Regions from separate parts of the Homo sapiens genome. Here region 2 is linked to region 1. The links are contacts of gene promoters, found by promoter capture Hi-C in human tissues and cell types (Jung and others, 2019). All regions are on one chromosome and are shown on one strand. Each heading gives the region's core, a stretch centred on a gene start or on the middle of the fragment in contact. The rest is flanking DNA. Distances are from core to core; before and after follow the strand shown. Region 1 holds the start of ACD (ACD shelterin complex subunit and telomerase recruitment factor). Region 2 overlaps GFOD2 (Gfo/Idh/MocA-like oxidoreductase domain containing 2).

Region 1 (5,447 bases), core at 1,101-3,600:
GCTACCCATGCTCCCTCCCAGCTCTACCTCAGGCCTTCCTTGTTCTACCCTCCAGCTGCAGAGGGGCTATGCTCACCCAGACAGAGCAGGGCTCCTGGGCTCCCCTGGTAGCTCCGGTCCTGGGAAAAGGCGGCCGATTCTTGCAGGGCAACCCTACAAACTCCTTGAACTCCAGGCTAGGTTTCTGGGGCCTGGTCACAAGAGCCTGGTGTGGACTGGGGACATGGCTACGGGGTGAGAGACTGGGAGTGCAGCTCTGGAGTGGGGAGCTGGGGGTACGGCTGGCGTGTGGGGACCTGGGGGTCAGGGTGGCAGGGGCTGAGCAGATGGCTGGTGAGGGCTGGGAGCTGCTTCTCTGCCCTGGGTCTGGAGCAGCCAAGGACAGGGCAGGCAGAAGGCTGATGCTGGTACCACTTTCCTCGGATGACATGTGGCCGGGTAAGGCCGGGGTTCCTGAGGAGGAGGGGACTTATTGTAGGCACAGCCCTCTCCGCTCAGGGCAGCTGAGTGGCCTGCGAGCTCAGACAGGACTGCAGGGACCGTGTTCATCCCCCACCCACCGTGCACCTTTCACAGCATCCTGCGCAGCCCGGGAACCTGACTGACAGGCGGCAGTGAGTGCCTGTGACCTGTGCATCACCTCACCTGAGGAACTGGGTGAGGAAGGAGGAGAGGCTATGAGGGTCAGAGATAGGTCCTGCAGAGCCGGGTCTGGTGGGGGCAGCTCAGGGCCTGGGGGGTTCAGGAAGTCTTATCAGCACTGTGGACCTGGGCCCCAGGTATCCCCCCAACCTCTCCAGTCCCCCTTACCCTGTGTCCTCTGACAGGGGCCTAGAGAGCTCAGAATTAGCTGGTCATTCTCAGAGATGCACAGCATTGAGCTGGGGACAGTGTACACAGCTTCTCCCTGTGGGACATGAACTCTGTAGGACAGGCCCGTTTACTCTCATGTCCTGTGGGATATGACCCTTGCCCAACTCCTCACCCTGACATCTCCCAAGCAAATCCCCAGACTGACCGTGGCCTTGCATCGTGAGGCAGCCCAGTGGGTGACAGGGGGTGCTGTGCAAGGGCCCTCCAGTGTCAGGCAGCTTTCAGCCAGGCACACGAGTGCCCCCTGATGCTCCTGGTCCTCCCGCATTTCATCCAGAAGCTGGGACAGTGATAGGCCTGGGGACAGGGGACCATGGGATGAGTCAAGGCTTAAAGGGGAGGACCAGGAGGGTGAGGGGGAAGACAGCTTATTGAGGAAGCATAAGGTTAAGGCTGGAGAGATCACTGCACAGCGTGTTAGGATCACTGGTCAAGCTCTACAGTACCTGCATTGGACGAGGTGGACTCTGAAAGGTGCTCCCTACAGGAAGAGAGTGGCCAGGACTCAGGAACCATGCTGAGGCCTGTCTACCTAGATACACCATCCCCTCACCAAACAACACGTGGCCCCCGAGCCCAACCCCAGACTCACTCAAGGCAGTCATAGAGCTTTTTCTGAACATCTAAGTCTTGGTTGCTAAGAAAAAGAGAAGGGTAGTTAATGGGGGCCCAAGCCCTCCTACCCCATAGGCGTCTGCCAGCGCCGGCCAGGCTGGGGTGGGGAGAGCTGCTGGAGGGCGGAGGCATCACTTACCAACCAGGCACCCGTAGCCGGGGCTGCTCCGTGGGCAGCAGGCTGAAGCGGTCCACCTGGAGATAGAACTCTGCGGGCTGGAGGAGTTCGGGGGGAAGGGGGGGTCTCAGAATCGTCACGAAGAGTCATGCCCGGTAACCCGCCCAAGGCAGTCTCACCACTCACCGCGCCGCCCTCAGCGACCTGGACATGAACCCCGCAGTCCTGCAGCAGCAGCAGCCGGCCCTCTGTCCCGCGGAAGCCGAACTCCTTCTCCTCCCTGCAACAAGCAGGATCCTCACTGCCGGGCCCACCTGAACACAAGGCCCGCCCACCTCGCGCTCTCCTGCCGGACTCCGACCTCCAGAGCCGCGCGGGGCCTCTCACCAGTCCGAGGTGTCCAGGGCCTCCCGCGTCACCAGGCATCGGACACTGTGGGTCCCGTCAGACACAAGCAGCGTGGCCCCGACGTCGGACGTATCAGGGGCGTGGGATGGGCCCGCGACCGCGGCCTCGGCGTCCTGTAGTACCTGACGGCGGCGAGCGGCGTCAATCCCACCACCCCGGGCCTCCGCCTCGGTCTCCGGGCCCTGAATGGGGGCTCACCTCAAGCAGCTGCCCGGCTCGTGGACTGGAGGGTGTCTCTGACCCCAGAATCAGCTCCCGAATCCAGGGCCGTAGGACCAGCCTCCCCGAACCTGCCATCCCCACGGCTACACCCAGCGGATGCAACGGGCCCGGGTTTCCCGCGGGCGCCCAGGCCCCGCCTTTCCTCGGAAGAGGAAGCTCCTTCGCTGGGCGGGGCCGGAGGAGGAGGCCCCGCCCACGTACACCCCGCGCCTGCGCACGAGGGCGTCCTGCTCGGGGGCCTGTGTGCAGACTCCCGCTGGTCCACCCCGCTGGTGCACGGGATGCTGGCCCGTTTACTCTCATCGCGGCGTCACTCTGACAGCGGCCAGGCATTTGGGCCGTTCGTCAAGATTCCTGTGGTACCGGTAGGGAACAGAACAAGGGCTGGTCCCGTCCCTGGAGAGGGTTCCAGGGCCGGAGGCTGAGGCCGAGTGCCGTCCGAGCGAGTTGACTCGAAACCATTTCAGCACCGTGTGACCCCCGAACGGTTCAGCACATATTTATTATGACTCAGTTTCCTCATCTACACAGTGCACGGTCTTGTAAGGCCAGTGGAAATAAGAGCACACACACAGCGCTAAATAAATGGTACTTCCTTCGCCCTCCCCTCGGATTGGCGGAGCCCTGCTCCCCAGACTCCGGGGGCGCGCGGACCTCAGCGTGATGACGCAAGAGCGGAGGACGGCTCCTCTCCATCCACGGCTCCGTTTCCTAGGAAACGTGGACTCCGCGTTCCACTCTGCGTCGCTGCCCCCTTGACGTCACGCTCCGGATGGGAAGGCGGGGCGTGTGCTACCGCCAGGGGCGGGGCGGCGCGGGCGGGCCGGCCGGGCTGTGCACCTGCGCCTCGGCGGGCCGCCTGGGGCACCGTCCCCGGCCCGCCCGGCCCCGCCATGGCCCGGCCGCAGAGGACTCCGGCGCGCAGTCCCGATAGCATCGTCGAGGTGAAGAGCAAAGTAAGGGCTCCTCCGGCCTCGGCCCTAGGCGCTCCCAATTCCCTCTTTCTCCCCTTCCCAGCTCCTTGGTCCCCGCCACCTCTTCCCTCTATCCTCCAAGTCCCATTCTGCTTTTCTGCTCGCCTTCCCCCATCCGTCTTCCTTCCTCCACTGCTGGTCTCCAGCTCTCTGTGGCCTGAGTACCTGGAGGGCGGTAAGAAGACCTTGGACAGCGTCCCTGGTACTGGAGCTGAGGTCTGGGCTTAAGGCTGCCGCAAAAGCGGCAGCCGCATCTTTCCCATTCCTGCCAGCCTGCGGTGAGAAAGGGGCGCAGGCTGTCCTGACTCCTCCTCTCCCCCAACCCCGACTTCCAGTTTGACGCCGAGTTCCGACGCTTCGCGCTGCCTCGCGCTTCGGTGAGCGGCTTCCAGGAGTTCTCGCGGTTGCTGCGGGCGGTGCACCAGATCCCGGGCCTGGACGTGCTACTTGGCTATACGGATGCTCATGGCGACCTGCTGCCCCTCACCAACGACGACAGCCTGCACCGGGCCCTGGCCAGCGGGCCCCCGCCACTGCGCCTACTGGTGCAGAAGCGGGGTGAGGAGGGGTACAGTGGGCAGCCTCTGTGGGGTAAGGTGTCTGTGGGGCAGGTCTACAAGGGTTAGTCCATGCCCAGGGTACCCAAGCGTCACCCTCTGCAGTCCCTGCCCTTGGCTTGACCTCTAAGTGGTAGGAAATAGCTACAGTGCCCCCTGTAAACAGCCCAAGTCGGGGAGCAGGTCTCTGATCTCAACATCCCCCCTCTTCTGCAGCAGAAGCTGACTCCAGCGGCCTGGCTTTTGCCTCCAACTCTCTGCAGCGGCGCAAGAAAGGGCTCTTGCTGCGGCCAGTGGCACCCCTGCGCACCCGGCCACCCTTGCTAATCAGCCTGCCCCAAGATTTCCGCCAGGTTTCCTCAGTCATAGACGTGGACCTACTGCCTGAGACCCACCGACGGGTGCGGCTGCACAAGCATGGTTCAGACCGCCCCCTGGGCTTCTACATCCGAGATGGCATGAGCGTGCGTGTGGCTCCCCAGGGCCTGGAGCGGGTTCCAGGAATCTTCATCTCCCGCCTGGTACGTGGGGGTCTGGCTGAGAGTACAGGGCTGCTGGCGGTCAGTGATGAGATCCTCGAGGTCAATGGCATTGAAGTAGCCGGGAAGACCTTGGACCAAGTGACGGACATGATGGTTGCCAACAGCCATAACCTCATTGTCACTGTCAAGCCCGCCAACCAGCGCAATAACGTGGTGCGAGGGGCATCTGGGCGTTTGACAGGTCCTCCCTCTGCAGGGCCTGGGCCTGCTGAGCCTGATAGTGACGATGACAGCAGTGACCTGGTCATTGAGAACCGCCAGCCTCCCAGTTCCAATGGGCTGTCTCAGGGGCCCCCGTGCTGGGACCTGCACCCTGGCTGCCGACATCCTGGTACCCGCAGCTCTCTGCCCTCCCTGGATGACCAGGAGCAGGCCAGTTCTGGCTGGGGGAGTCGCATTCGAGGAGATGGTAGTGGCTTCAGCCTCTGACAGTCAGGATGAAGCCCCATGCCACTCCACACTGCTGGGACATGGCAGGGACTTCACAGTGGGGGTTTTTAGCTGGCTCACAGGGCTCCCTCAGCCTGGGGAACATTAAAGGTTTTCTACAAATACAGTCATGGTCCTTGTGTGTCCCAGTTCCAGCCTCCTCCCTGGTCTCACCAGCTTGCCTTCTGCTCTGGACTAAGGCAGGAGTGACATTGGGGAGAACTTCCTGCAATCAAGCAGCAGGAGGGCCACCAGGCTTGGCATTTTTAGGGTAAGAAAAGCTCTTATGGAAACAAATCCTGTGTACAAAATGTTTAATTTTGACAAAGCAGTTAAAAGGCTAGGGTGGCCCTTCTGCAGCCACTGGTGACTGGGAAGAGTGCTCTAGGGACACTGGCCACCCCCCTGCTCCTGTCTTCAGACCTCTGCTCTGGGATTGGGTCCAACCCTGTCCTTTGCAGCCATGTGGCGATCCTCAGCATGGAGCTCCTTGCCACTGTCCCCCAAAGGGGCTCAGTCGTCCATCTTCACGAAGACTTTGGGCCGAGAAAAGATCTTGATGGCCTCCTCTACCTGCACCAGCTTCCGGTCCAGCTCAGCACGGTGGCTCTGGGCTCTCAGTGAGTCTGCCCCAGCAGGCAGCAGTACCAGCTCACGCAGCAGCTGGCTCTGGCCTACAGGGGGCCCGGGAACAGTGAGAACAGTGAGT
Region 2 (5,447 bases), core at 1,436-3,935, 37 kb after region 1:
TTTCTGATGGTAAACTGTCTGTGGCCACTCAGTCACCTTGCTTTCCTTTTCTACTTTCTCCATCTCTCTCTTTTTTTTTTTTTTTTTTTTTTTGAGACGGAGTCTCACTCTGTCGCCTAGGCTGGAGCGTAATGGTGCAATCTCGGCTCACTGCAACCTTTGCCGCTCCGGTTCAAGCGATTCTCCTTGCCTCAGCTACTACCTCAGTAGCTGGGGTTACAGGCACACGCCACCATACCCAGCTAATCTTTGTATTTTTAGTAGAGACAAGGTTTTACCATGTTGGCCAGGCTGGTCTCGAACTCCTGACCTCAGGTGATCCACCCGCCTTGACCTCCCAAAGTGCTGGGATTACAGGCATGAGCCACTGAGCCCAGCCACCATCTCTCTCTTTTCTCTTTGCTAATTCTGCCCCTACAGGCTTCTCTACTAGTTTTCTTAGAAAACAGGTCAAGCACACAGTTATCTTCTACAATTTTCATGTCCTGGACTCCCTTCGGCTATTTGGTCACTGTCTGCTTTTACAGGTGTCTTGGTTATTTACAGGTTATGGCTGTTATAGGAGCTTGACAGTGTCAAGCATGCAGCATTAGGTAAGTAGTGAGATTCTACTTAAGTTTTTTTTTTTTTTTTTTGAGACGGAGTCTCATTTCTGTCACCCAGGCTGGAGTGCTGTGGCATGATCTTGGCCCACTGCAACCTCAGCCTCCTGGGTTCAAGCGGTTCTCCTGTCTCAGCCTCCCGAGTAGCTGGGATTACAGGCATGCGCCACCATACCTGGCTAATTTTTGTATTTTTAGTAGAGACAGGGTTTCACTATATTGGCCAGGCTGGTCTCGAACTCCTGACCTCAGGTGATCCTCCTGCCTCGGCCTCCCAAAGTGCTAAGATTACAGGCATAAGCCACTGTGCCCAGCCAAATTTTGTTGGTCATTAATTACTAATTGTTACAGGGCTAAGGGAGTGAGACACAGTCCATGTCTTCTCTAAATTCATGCCCAGGGCACACCTCCTCCACTCTCACACCGTGTTCCTTCTCACCCTAGTTGTATTTGGGTATATATAGGGAATGTATGTATCCACTACATAGGGAACCCTTTTTTTTTTTTTGAGATCGAGTTTCGCTCTTTTTGCCCAGGCTGGAGTGGTGCAATGGCACGATCTCGGCTCACTGCAACCTCCACCTCCCAGGTTCAAGCGATTCTCCTGCCTCAGCCTTCCAAGTAGCTGCGATTACAGGAGCCCGCCACCATGCCTGGCTAATTTTTTGTATTTTTAGTAGAGACGGGGTTTCACCATGTTGGACAGGATGGTCCCGATCTCTTGACCTCGTGATCTGCCCGCCTCAGCCTCCCAAAGTGTTAGGATTACAGGCGTGAGCCACCGCGCCCGGCCGGGAATCTTTTTTTTTTTTTTAAATGATCTATTACGTATCTATGACCAACTTAGATGTCTCCTCTTCAAAAGCTGTGTAGGAATATGAGGATGATAATTTTGAGCCAATATGAAGTGAAAAATATATATAAGTATCGGTAGCTTAAAACAACAGAATGGACTAGAATTTTTTTTCTTTTTTGAGACAGTCTCGCTCCGTCACCCAGGCTGGAGTGCAGTGGCGCGCTCTTGGCTCACTGCAAGCTCTGCCTCCTGGATTCACGCCATTCTCCTGCCTCAGCCTCCCGAGTAGCTGGGACTACAGGCACCCACCACCACACCCGGCTAATTTTTTGTATTTTCAGTAGAGACGGGGTTTCACCATGTTAGCCAGGATGGTCTGGATCTCCTGACCTCGTGATCCGCCTGCCTCAGCCTCCCAAAGTGCCGGGATTATAGGCGTGAGCCACTGCGCCCGGCCGAAAAATTTTTAATAACCTGTTTTACTGCCACTGACTCAAAGGGAAGCTTCATCAACTCCCATAAAGGGGTATTGGCTGGCCCCCGAGGAAGCCAGATGGCATGAAGGCAGGCAGGCTTGCTGACTAGGTATTTCCTGCCCAAGCAGGCAGAGCTGGTTTTCCTTGTTAATTTCAGTGGCTACCCTTTCTCACCCCTAAAATTTCCCCACTCTTTGTCTTTAACATCCTTGCACATATCCTTCAGATGCCTCCAAAGATCTCCACAAACCCAGTCCTGCCAAGACCACATACATTTCCCATCACCACATGCTGGTCAGGAATGAAGTGTGCCTTGGCAGGACAGGCTATATACAATTTGACAAGGCCTTGCCTGGGTTCAAATCCTGGCTCTGTCACTTTCCAGCTGGGTGACCTCAGGTAAGTCCTTTAGTCACTCTGTATCTCCATTTCCTCATCTGTAAAATGGGGAAATTTTATCTACCTCACAGGGGATTTAAGGATTGAGTTAATATTTGTAGAATACTTATAATTGGGCCTGGCCAATTAGATATGAGTCAGTACATAGGGAATCTTTTTCTGAAAAAAAGATATCTGTTAACTATCTGTGACTGACTTAGATGTCTCTTCTTCAAAAGTTGAGTAGAAATATGAGGGTCATAATTCTGAGCTAATATGAAGTGAGTATAATAGGGCAGCCAGTGTTTAGTCTGTCCCTTGTTCCATGCAACCCTGTTGTACAGATAAGAAAACATGCTCAAAGAGGTGAGGTAACTCTCCCAGGGTTCCACGCCTGGCTGTGTGCATGACCTGCTACAACCAGCATGAAACCTTGAGCAGGTTACTTCACTTCTCTGAGCCTCTATAAAAACAAGAAAGAAAAAGAGTCATTTTGTAACATGTGCATGTGTGGAGCAACTCTTCTTCCATCCTTCCTCATGAGTGTGAGCCAGGCAAGTTCCTTCCACTGTCTGCTCTGGGGGTGACTGTTTGCCTCTGATCCACTGTTCAAAACCAATACTAATCTGGTCAATGTCTCACCTTTTCTGAGGAGCTAACGAGGGAGCTGTGGGACATAAAAAGATGAAAAGTCCTAATTTCAGGGGTGACAAGTCAGCAAGGTGAGTAGGAGCCAGAACTGGTGGCGTAAAGTGTTAATCTCAAGAGTTTGGACTTTGACAGGTGGGTGTGCTCAGTATTCTTGGTCTGCTCCTCCTTCCCTACCTGATCCTCTCTGCCCTGCTTTTTGTCTCTGGAGTCAGAAGGTCAGTCTCTAAAGCCCTGGGCTCCAGGTCCTCTGGCTTCCATCTGAGTCCAGCCAAGGGAAAGAACCAGGAAGAGATCAGCGAGCAGGAGGAAAGGCCAAGGTGTTTATTTTTTGCCTTCTCTCCCTCCCAGGATATGGTTCTGGCAGAGCTGTGTTCCTTAACCAAGGTCACAGCTCCTTTAGAGGACCCCTCTCTCCCATGGCCATTGCTTTTGCTGGGTTCCAGTGACACATCCCCACTCCGTCATTGCACCTAGGGTGGGGACACTACCTTGCCAGTCCCTGGGTGCTCCACTATCCCTTGTATGTTTCCTTTACTACTCACACTATTGTGAATAATCCCTTCATTAAAGAGTTTTTAATTAACCCTTTGAGTACACTGACTGTTTCCTGTCTAGACCTTGACTAATGCAGGTAAGCAATAAGAACCATTGGATTTTTTTTCTTTTTCTTTTTCTTTGAGATGGAGTCTTGCTCTGTCACCCAGGCTGGAGTGCAGTGGCGTGATCTTGGCTCATTGCAACCTCTGCTTCCAGGTTCAAGCAAGTCTCCTGCCTCAGCTTCCCGAGCAGCTGGGATTACAGGTGTGCGCCACCATGCCCAGCTAATTTTTGCATTTTTAGTAGACACGGGGTTTCCCCATATTGGCCAGGCTGGTCTCGAACTCCTGACCTCTGGTGATCTGCCCACCTCGGCCTCCCGAAGTGTTGGGATTACAGGCGTGAGCCACTGTGCCCGGCCTGCATTTTTTTTCTTTAATTTGGCAGAAAGACGTAGGTAGGATAGAGTTTAGGAGACATTAGACACAGAGAACCAGTTAGGATATCAAGTAAGACATAAGGAGGGTCTAATGGAGGGAATGAAATGGAGCAGACAGTTATCACTAGGATTTGGGATTATCAGCAGGGTGGGAGAGCCAAAAAAATAAAATAAAATAAATAACTGAACTATAGACCAATACGTCTCATAAACTTAGGCACAAAAATCCTCAACAAAATATTAGCAAATTAAATCTAGCAATGTGGCTGGGCGTGGTGGCTCACACCTGTAATCCCAGCACTTTGGGAGGCCAAGGCGGGCGGATCATGAGGTTAGGAGATTGAGACCATCCTGGCTGACATGGTGAAACCCCGTCTCTACTAAAAATACAAAAAATTAGCCAGACGTGATGGTGGGTACCTGTAGTCCCAGCTACCCAGGAGGCTGAGGCAGCAGAATCGCTGGAACCAAAGAGGCAGAGGCTGCAGTGAGCTGAGATCGCACCACTGGCACTCCAGCCTGGGCAACAGAGCAAGACTTCATCTCTAAAAAACAAAACAAAACAAAAATAAATAAAAATTAAAAAAAAAATACACCATGACCAACAGGGGTTTAATCCCAGGAATGCAAGGCTGGCTCAACATTCTAAAATCAACTACTATTGGATAGGAGAATGTGGTGTTTTTTTGTTTGTTAGTTTGGTTTGAGACAGAGTCTCACTCTGTCACCCAGACTGGAATGCAGTGGCGCAATCTCGGCTTACTGCAACCTCCGCCTCCTGGGTTCAGGTGATTCTCGTGCCTCAGCCACCCGAGCAGCTGGGACCACAGATGTGTACCACCACGCCTGGCTAATTTTTGTACATTTTGTAGAGAAGGGGTTTTGCCATGTTGGCCAGGCTGGTCTCAAACTCCTGGCCTCAAGCGATCCACCAGCCTCAGCCTCCCAAAGTGCTGGGGTAACAGGAGCAAGCCACCGCGCCCAGCCTGGATAGCAAAATGTTTAACTGAAAAAGAAAAAAAAAAAAGGCCAGGTGCAGTGGCTCACCTGTAATCCCAGAATTTTGGGAGGCCAGGAGTTCAAGACCAGCCTGGTGAACATGGTGAAACCCTGTCTCTACAAAAAACAAACAAAAAAAGCCAGGTGCAGTGGCACACACCTGTGGCTACTCAGGAGGCTCAGGAGGGAGGAACACTTGAGCCTGGGAGGTGGAGGTTGCAGTGAGCCATTTTTGCACCACTACACTTCAGCCTGGGCAACAAGAGCATGACCCTGCCTCAAAAAAATAAAAACTAGGCCAGGCGCGGTGGCTCACGCCTATAATCCCAGCACTTTGGGAGGCCAAGGTGGGCAGATTGCCTGAGCTCAGGAGTTTGCGACCAGCCTGGGCAACAAGGTAAAACCCCATCTCTACTAAAATACAAAAAAATTAGCCGGTCATGACAGTATGTGCCTGTAGTCTCAGCTACTTAGGAGGCTGAGGCAGGAGAACTGCTTGAACCCGGGAAGCAGAGGTTGCAGTGAGCTGAGATCGTGCCACTGCACTCCAGCCTGGGCAACACAGTGAG

What was found. Contacts are between HindIII fragments. The study calls those that stand out against the background at their distance.
Region 2: a fragment that was not itself captured here is called in contact with the fragment with the promoter of ACD in region 1 in 4 of the 25 tissues and cell types used here (mesendoderm cells, pancreas, small bowel and 1 more).

Annotation. Positions count from the first base shown.
Region 1 is chr16:67,657,910-67,663,356 of GRCh38, forward strand. ACD (ACD shelterin complex subunit and telomerase recruitment factor) reads right to left here and starts at 2,351. Exons shown (of 12, transcript NM_001082486.2): 1 at 2,213-2,351; 2 at 1,994-2,136; 3 at 1,793-1,886; 4 at 1,628-1,704; 5 at 1,466-1,510; 6 at 1,320-1,354; 7 at 1,019-1,170; 8 at 811-907; 9 at 646-732; 10 at 77-453. The coding sequence starts at 2,311. It overlaps PARD6A (par-6 family cell polarity regulator alpha), which reads left to right and starts at 3,051. Exons shown (of 3, transcript NM_001037281.2): 1 at 3,051-3,192; 2 at 3,546-3,768; 3 at 3,987-4,865. The coding sequence starts at 3,130. The coding sequence ends at 4,738. It overlaps ENKD1 (enkurin domain containing 1), which reads right to left. Exons shown (of 7, transcript NM_032140.3): 7 at 5,036-5,412. The coding sequence ends at 5,252. RefSeq lists an enhancer at 1,681-2,264 and silencers at 2,418-2,527, 2,838-3,317. The HindIII fragment of the contact is 13,160 bases long and covers 1-5,447 here.
Region 2 is chr16:67,694,918-67,700,364 of GRCh38, forward strand. The region is part of intron 1 of GFOD2 (Gfo/Idh/MocA-like oxidoreductase domain containing 2); the gene reads right to left. Among named protein-coding and RNA genes, the nearest start is that of GFOD2, 22 kb to the right of the region's middle. The HindIII fragment of the contact is 7,245 bases long and covers 1-5,447 here.